2 separate regions of the Homo sapiens genome follow, and region 1 is linked to region 2. The links are contacts of gene promoters, found by promoter capture Hi-C in human tissues and cell types (Jung and others, 2019). All regions are on one chromosome and are shown on one strand. Each heading gives the region's core, a stretch centred on a gene start or on the middle of the fragment in contact. The rest is flanking DNA. Distances are from core to core; before and after follow the strand shown.

Region 1 (3,949 bases), core at 781-3,280, 110 kb after region 2:
TGAGAAAAGCACCAATATTGATGATCTCATGAAAAAAAAAAAACTAAAAAGCCACTTTATGTTGCAAAAGCTATGCTACTTACCCCCTCAAAGCAGCAGTCCCCAACAATATAAAGTCCTGAATTTAAGTCATGATGGGACTACAAGCAAAGTGACTCATTCTATACTCATTCTCTTAACAGTTCTTCACATTCCCACATGGAGTTCTGAATCTTGATTATGGTGGTGGTGATTACATGAAGCTACATGAGATAAAATTGCACAGAACCAAACACACACAAATACATGAAGTTACATTAGATAAAACTGCACAGAACCAAACACACACATACACATGAGTGCTTGTAAAACTGGTAAAATCTGAATAAGCTCTGTGGAGTGTATCAACATTAACTTCTTGGCTTTTAAAAGTTTTGACACACACTTCTCATTGTATAAGATGTTACCATTGGGGATGGCTGGTTGAAGAATACACCAGGACTTCTCTGTACATTTTTTTCTACAACTTCCTATGAATCTGTAACTATTTCAAAATAAAAATTTAAAAAACAATGAGAAATCAGAATCTTTGGGGAAAAGTTCTAATGAAGGAGTCACGTACTCTAAAGAAGACGCAAAACAGTCCATACCACCATAGAATGCATTTATAAGGACGCTTATGCCACAAATAGAGATTATCTTAGGTATCAAAGCAGATTAATTTAAAGAGATCATTCTAGCTTATTGAAAATAGCAATTCTCATTTTCTTGAGGTTTGTTCCATTTTGTATGTGATAACTGGAACTATGAACTAGTTCTCCTCTTAAAATCAGAAAGGACAAACCACAGAAAAATAATTTGTTCTGCCTGCCCACTGCACTTCTCTTCTCCCATCTACAACCTCCTCCACAAACCAAATTTCTCCTCTAAGCTTTCAAGTTTAAATAACATTGGACCACAACTCATGTCTGTCTATCGTGAGGAAACTTCACAACTGCAAAGGCCTAGGCTTGTTTCCAGGCCCACGGGCAAACATATGTTTTAGATTAAAAGGCATTTTAAATCTTGGCTTTATTTGCTCCCAAGAAGCCAGACTGTCCCTGTGCCTAAGCTGTTTCTTGGCTATCAAGCACCTTTGGAAACCGCATTAACTCTTTCAGCCTAGGTGGATTTTCTTTTGCACATTTAAAGAGTTTCATTAACAAGTATCCTTCCAACAACTGTATCTTCCACACCTGCAAAGTTAACCAACAGACCAGGGCCTTCGAAAGTTTTGCTTAATGAACCTATCATCAGCTAGAGATGAAATAAAATTTAAAATCCCCTTTACCCCACCAGTTCTCAAAGTTGGCTGCATATTAGAATGACCTGGTGGCCTTTTAAAAAATTACCAAGGCCTGGGTCCCACTCCTAGATTCTGATTTAATTGCTATGAGGTGTAGCCTGAGCTTTGGGAGTTTTAAAAGCTCCCCAGGTCAAAACCACCACTTGAGTGCACAACTCTTCACACTTTTCATATTTTATCATTCTTCCAAAAATGCATACATACAGAAAGGAGTAATCATCTATTCGAGTGTTTATGGAATCTAAGCAATCATTCCACCAGAACCTTACCAATCCAGGGGTTAAGGCCTCCAATGTCAGTCAATAGCCTTCCCTCTGGCCCCTGAAAATAAACACTGGGAATGCTGCCTTTCAGGTCTAGTAGAGGCCCTGCCAATGCACTCAGTTTCATATCTAGTGAATACAGAAGGCTCAGGTGAGAAACAGAAAATCCTCAAAGTATGTTCTTTTAATAAAAGCTTTACTACCTAAACAAATAAACTAGATCCTATTAAGAAAAGTGGGTGTTCCAGACTTCATTTTTTTTTTTGAAAATACAAAAACTGTATTTTCCGGGATCATTCAAACTTGTATGAAAAGAAGAGGTATGATGTAAGAAAATATTTTCACAGCACCTCTGGATCCAAGTTGTCATAATTCCAAAGGGAGCAGAGAATGACTTGGAAAAAAGAACTTCATGATTAAAGATTATTTCCTCAATTGACATTTTACCTTCCCCAAGATTGAAACAGCACCTATTCCAAAAGCAAACTGGTTATGAACTATCACTACCACTTAGAACCTATTTTGCTTATCCATATCAATTCCAAATCTAGATTCAAAAGGCAGAATTCAAATGAGTACAGCATATAAAACTGGAATTTTAAAATGAGAAAAAAAATTTTGAAACCCCCAATATTAAATTAAGACTGTTTCTAAAACACACATGTAGATAATTATTAGGAGAAAATAAAAAGAGAAATGGTTTCCCTGTAGCCCAGTAATTCAATTCTTCTGTATCTTCCCCAGGGAAGATTTTTGAAAATAAGCCTGCAAAAGGCATTTACAAGGATGTTCAATGCAACACTGGTATGACAGTGAAAAACTCACAAAAAAAGGAAAAAGTAAGCCATTATACACATATCATGGAATATACACAAACATGAATGCATGTATTTATATCTACCTATATATATATTTACCTATATATACATATATACATGCATGTGTGTATCCAAGACATAGTAGGTCTGCAGAACAGTATGTAAAGAATATCAGTCATGTAAAAAACAGTAAAACTGTATTTTTATAGGCAAGTACATATGTATACAAATACACACAAAAAGGTTTGGAAAAGCCACACTCCAAAATAATAGTAATTACCTCTAAGATTCAAGGTATTTGTGCTTAAGGGGGAGGGGGGAGTGTTGAGCTTTATCTGTAATATTTTATTTTTTTAATAATGAAAATGAATTCACATCTTCTGGATAGAATATATGAATTTGAAAAAGACGATGCCCAGAAACACTTCAATAAATTAAACATAATTATACCCACCTTGACTGTGACAGGTCCCAACAAAGCTTTAATGACACACATCCTCTTTCCTCAGTGGAAACAGCAGAAAGCAGTGGAGGGTTTAGAGCAGAAAATTCGGATCAAATTTGCATCCAGGTATAGTGGCCATTCAACTGCTCCACTTAACCAAAGGGAATTCTCACTGTCTTCTTTTCCTGGGATAGATGTGTGCCCACTATTTAACTGTATATACACAAGGTGCTTACCTGCAACTTGAGAAATGGAGGTACTGGAAGGATGTCACTCAAAAGGGGTAGCGGGGAGACAATATTCATGCTTCCATGTGAAAGCCAACAATGGACAAAAATCAACCCACCGCAAATTCAGCATCAGTATATTACATATGTATTGCCACTTCGCTCAATGAAGACAGAAATGCTTTTCCAAAATACTAGTAAAAAGGTGCTGCTCAAAATATTTATATGTAATAAAACCTGATGTTTCCTTTCTTACAAATATCTTCTTTGCCATAACTGTCTTTCAGACTTGTCATCATCCTTTAGAGCATGTCAGAAAAGTCCCAAAATGACAGCCTATTGGTAACATGTGGCTTCCAGATGTGATTTGTTTCTACTGTGACTATTTCACATAAAAATGCAGACTTCCACTTTATCTTCATCTAGTAACATTGGGTCTGTCTTTCTTCATTCCAACCACTGGCTGGAGAATTGTCCCCTGAGACAGGACAAGCACTCTGCACCATCCCAGCCTCCACCATACCCTACTGCTTCCTGAACCCTGAGGCTGAGAGGGCCAAGTACCCTGTTTTATTCTGCTTCTGCTGTTGTTTTTCTCACAGTAAAGAAAAAATAATACTGTACTTATGTCTCTACCAAAGGTGGGAAAACTAAGAGAGTGCCAAAAGTTTTGAGAATGAGAAACAGGGTATTTTTCTATAAGAGTGAAGAATATTCCCACATGTCTAATCTGCAAACAAAGTAAGTTTCTGTTGAAAGAATAAAACTAAATATATTATGAAATTACTGGCCAATTCTCTCATTTACACTTATCTTCCTGTCCTTTGAAGGCATTTGAATGTGCTACGCCTTAAGTATTGATATGCCACCAG
Region 2 (3,980 bases), core at 1,216-3,715:
CTTTGATTCAATCCATGGAAATGTTAGAGTCTCCTTGGTCTCTGCCGCTGAGCCTACCCTAGGCTAATTCATCTCACAGCCCAGGAAGCTGGGTTTAGAAGGGTATGGTCCCCAATTTAGTGATGAAGGACTGAGGTGCACTTGTGGGAACCACAGACTTCGCCCAAGGTGTTGAGTTCACTCAGGAAAGAGAACTTCGGCATCCCCAGCCATCGGTATCCCCCTACTCCATGAATGTAAACTCAGAGAGACCCTCCATATCATATCCCTAGCACCTAGAGCAGTTCCTGGAGCATAGCAGGGCTCAGGCAATACATGCCAAATGAAAAAACAAATTAATGAATACAGGCTGGGCGCGGTGGCTCACACCTGTAATCCCAGCACTTTGGGAGACTGAGGTGGGTGGATCACTTGAGACCAGGAGTTCTCGACCAGTCTGGCCAACATGACAAAAACCTGTCTCTACTAAAAATACAAAAATTAGCCAGGCATGGTGGTGTACACCTGCAATCCCAGCTACTTGGGAGGCTGAGGCACAAGAATCGCTTGAACCCATGAGGCAGATGTTGCAGTGAGCCGAGATTGCGCCACTGTCTACCAGCCTAGGCGACAGAGCAAGACTCTGTCTCAGAAAAAAAAAAAAAAAATACAAACTCATACACAATAGACACATCCCATGCATAAGTGCTAGAAACACTCAGTTATAGACAAGCATATACAATGAAGATACTTAAGCACACGCGCACACACTTGTGCACAATACACACCTGTGCCCACATACACAAATCCATACCCAAACTAAAGACACACACAAACACGTGTATGTATACAAAGATGTTATGGGCAACATATACAATACATATATGCACAAACACACACCTACTCACCCTCACACACATGCACAGTGACCCTCCACAATGATTCTGGGCCCAGGAAGCAGTTTGTCTACCCCACGAACCCCAGCTTGTTTGAAGCTCGTCAGGATGTTCCTTGCAGACCCCGCTTAGCCAGCTGGTGACTGGCCCCCGCCTCCTGAACCTCCAGGCTTAGGGCCGGCCAGGCAGGCAGGCTGCATCTCTGGCAGCCCCTCGTGGGTGGGCAGGCAGGCAGGCAGTGGACGCAGAGGTCACTGGGGTGAGAGCTGGGGCTGCCCTGGCCTCCCTGCTCTTGGCTGGAATGTGAGCTGTAGGGGCCACTTCCCAGGCCTCGCTCCTCCCCCACAGCCACCCACCAGCCCCAGGCCCAGCCAACTCGTGACTCCCAGTCCTGCCAGGTTCCTGCAGCCTGGGAGCTGGACACAGAAGGCAGTGAGAGGAGTGGTGGTAAAGAAAGATCCAGAACCAAGGGAGGGCACACACAAACGCAGAGAGAGAGGCACAGTCTTCACCCACAGAGACAGACACACACACGCAGAGACAGGCAGGCGTGCAGACTCACAGTCCCACCGAAAGATACACATTCAGACACTTCCAAACACACCCAGATACACAGCGGACACGAACAGATCACACAAGCATACAGAGATACAGAGAGACCTGACCCCCACACAGAGGCGTATTTGGAGGTACAGTAGTCACACGTACTCAGACCACACAGAGGCTCAGATGCACCGCTCATGGATATTCACAGACCCGCAAATGCCCATGCACACGCGCAGATGCACACAGACCCCCGCGCAGCGTACAGTTCCTCCTCGGCCAGGGACCAGGAGGAGATGCCTGAGTGAGACCACTCTCTACCACAGGGGGCTGCCCCGCAGGGAGGGCCTGGGAAGACTGCTTCCCAAGGAGGCAACAGGCCTGATCCTCCAGCCAGGTGCCCTGAGAGGTTTCCTGTGGGAGGCCCACTGTGTCCGTGCCTGGCTAGGAGGGTGGTAGGTCGGGTTAGAGTTCTGGAGTCACGTAGGCTTGGGTTTTGTCTCTGCCAGTTCCTCGGACACACAGATGCGCGCACACACACAACACACACACACTTTCCAAGAATGCCTATGTCCATTCGACATATGCAGGCAGGGGTGCTCTCGGAGCCTCGGTTTCTTCATCTATATAACCTGGCTAGGAATCCCTTGGCCCCCTAGGGGTGTGGGCATGGCTGCCTTCCCAGGCATCCCGGACGGCCCTTCCTGCAGAGGCGGTTAGATCATGAGCCTTGACGGCTGACGCTGGACTCCTGGATGCCCCCATCCCAGGTGACCGCCCTGAGAGCCGAAGCAGGGCTGTGGGCCCTGTGGGCGGGCGCGGCGCGGCCCGGGGAGCTGCGGGCTGGGCTCGGCGAGGCGTCTGGACCTGCCGAGAGCCCCTCGCACGCACTGCGGGCTCCGGCGCTGCGGGCTGGCCGGGCGCTGCGGGCTGACCGGGCGCTCCGGGAACTCGGCTCGGGAACCTCGTCTGCGGTGGGCGGGGCCGGCCCGGAGCCCCGCCCCGGCTCAGTCCCTGAAACCCAGGCGCGGACCGGCTGCAGTCTCAGAAGGGAGCTGCTGTCTGCGGAGGAAACTGCATCGACGGACGGCCGCCCAGCTACGGGAGGACCTGGAGTGGCACTGGGCGCCCGACGGACCATCCCCGGGACCCGCCTGCCCCTCGGCGCCCCGCCCCGCCGGGCCGCTCCCCGTCGGGTTCCCCAGCCACAGCCTTACCTACGGGCTCCTGACTCCGCAAGGCTTCCAGAAGATGCTCGAACCACCGGCCGGGGCCTCGGGGCAGCAGTGAGGGAGGCGTCCAGCCCCCCACTCAGCTCTTCTCCTCCTGTGCCAGGGGCTCCCCGGGGGATGAGCATGGTGGTTTTCCCTCGGAGCCCCCTGGCTCGGGACGTCTGAGAAGATGCCGGTCATGAGGCTGTTCCCTTGCTTCCTGCAGCTCCTGGCCGGGCTGGCGCTGCCTGCTGTGCCCCCCCAGGTAAGAGCTACCCCCACCTAGCCTGGCTCCCCAGACCTCCCCATCCCAGCACTGGAAGCATGGGACTCTGAAATCACAGACCCACTCCAGGGAGCAGCAACTCCAAGGATGTCCACACACTTCCTAAAGGCCAGGCTGGACTTCTTTCGTTTGGGAAGAGACCTCAGGCTGGCTGTCCCCCAGGTCCTGGGGGCTGTCTTGGTGGGGGCAGGGAAGCCACAGGGAGGGAGGGAGGGAGGGAGGTTTCCTGTCTGGCCCCTGGAGCCCTGGTGGCTTTGCTAAAAGCATCTGTCCACTAATCCCAGGCGGGTCCCTGGCCTTGTGGTCAGGGTCGAGGCCCCATGGCCAACCAGGCGTCCCCAGGACCTCTGACCTGGCCTGGTGGGGGTGGCGGAGGAGCCAGCTGAAGAAGCTGTTGGTGGGGAGGCTGGCCCTGCCCCCACCAGGGCTCAGGACTGAGCCGTGGGCTCCTGGGTGGGCTGGGGACGAGACAAGGGGTCTCGCTGTGCCTTTTCTCCTGGGTGGGTGGCCGGAGGTCCTGAGTGCAGGGCCTGGGGAAGTGAGCAGGGCCCTTTTCCCAGGAGCCGGGTGAGTCTGGCTGGGAGCCAGCTTGGGCAGTGAAATCCTGACAAAGCCAATGAACTGCCTTCCCACTGCGTTGTCCCACTGCCCTGGGAGTCCCCAGCCCCAGCCCAAGAGTAGGAGTGGGCTGGGCAGTCCCTGAGGAGTCCGAGCAGCCCAGCCACCCGCCTGCCTGCTGCAGGGCTGGCCAGAGGTGTAACGTTACCGGCTGCACCAGCTCATGGCGCCACCCGCTCCAGCCCCTCAGCTCCCACCAGCTGATCACCTCCCCCTGGGCTCTGGCACCCAGCCAAGGCGGGCTGTGCAGGGCCCAGCAGGGTTGGCCTGGGGGCTGGGTAGAAGGCAGACCCGCAGGATTGGAAGATCTTTGGGATGCAGCAGGCCAAGGGTCTCCAAAAGCTTCTAGCCTCCCATCCTTTTCCAAATGAGGAAAACTGAGGCCAGAGAGGGGTGGGACCTAACCTACCCAGGGTCCAGTGAGTTTTTAGTGGTACTCAGGCTGCT

Evidence for each region. Contacts are between HindIII fragments. The study calls those that stand out against the background at their distance.
Region 1: a fragment that was not itself captured here is called in contact with the fragment with the promoter of PGF in region 2 in 4 of the 25 tissues and cell types used here (adrenal gland, bladder, lymphoblastoid cells and 1 more).

What each region holds. Positions count from the first base shown.
Region 1 is chr14:74,843,398-74,847,346 of GRCh38, reverse strand. No RefSeq gene overlaps it. Among named protein-coding and RNA genes, the nearest start is that of PROX2, 31 kb to the left of the region's middle. The HindIII fragment of the contact is 4,035 bases long and covers 13-3,949 here.
Region 2 is chr14:74,954,082-74,958,061 of GRCh38, reverse strand. PGF (placental growth factor) reads left to right here and starts at 2,465. Exons shown (of 7, transcript NM_002632.6): 1 at 2,465-2,894. The coding sequence starts at 2,820. RefSeq lists silencers at 2,319-2,418, 2,599-2,668. The HindIII fragment of the contact is 10,779 bases long and covers 1-3,980 here.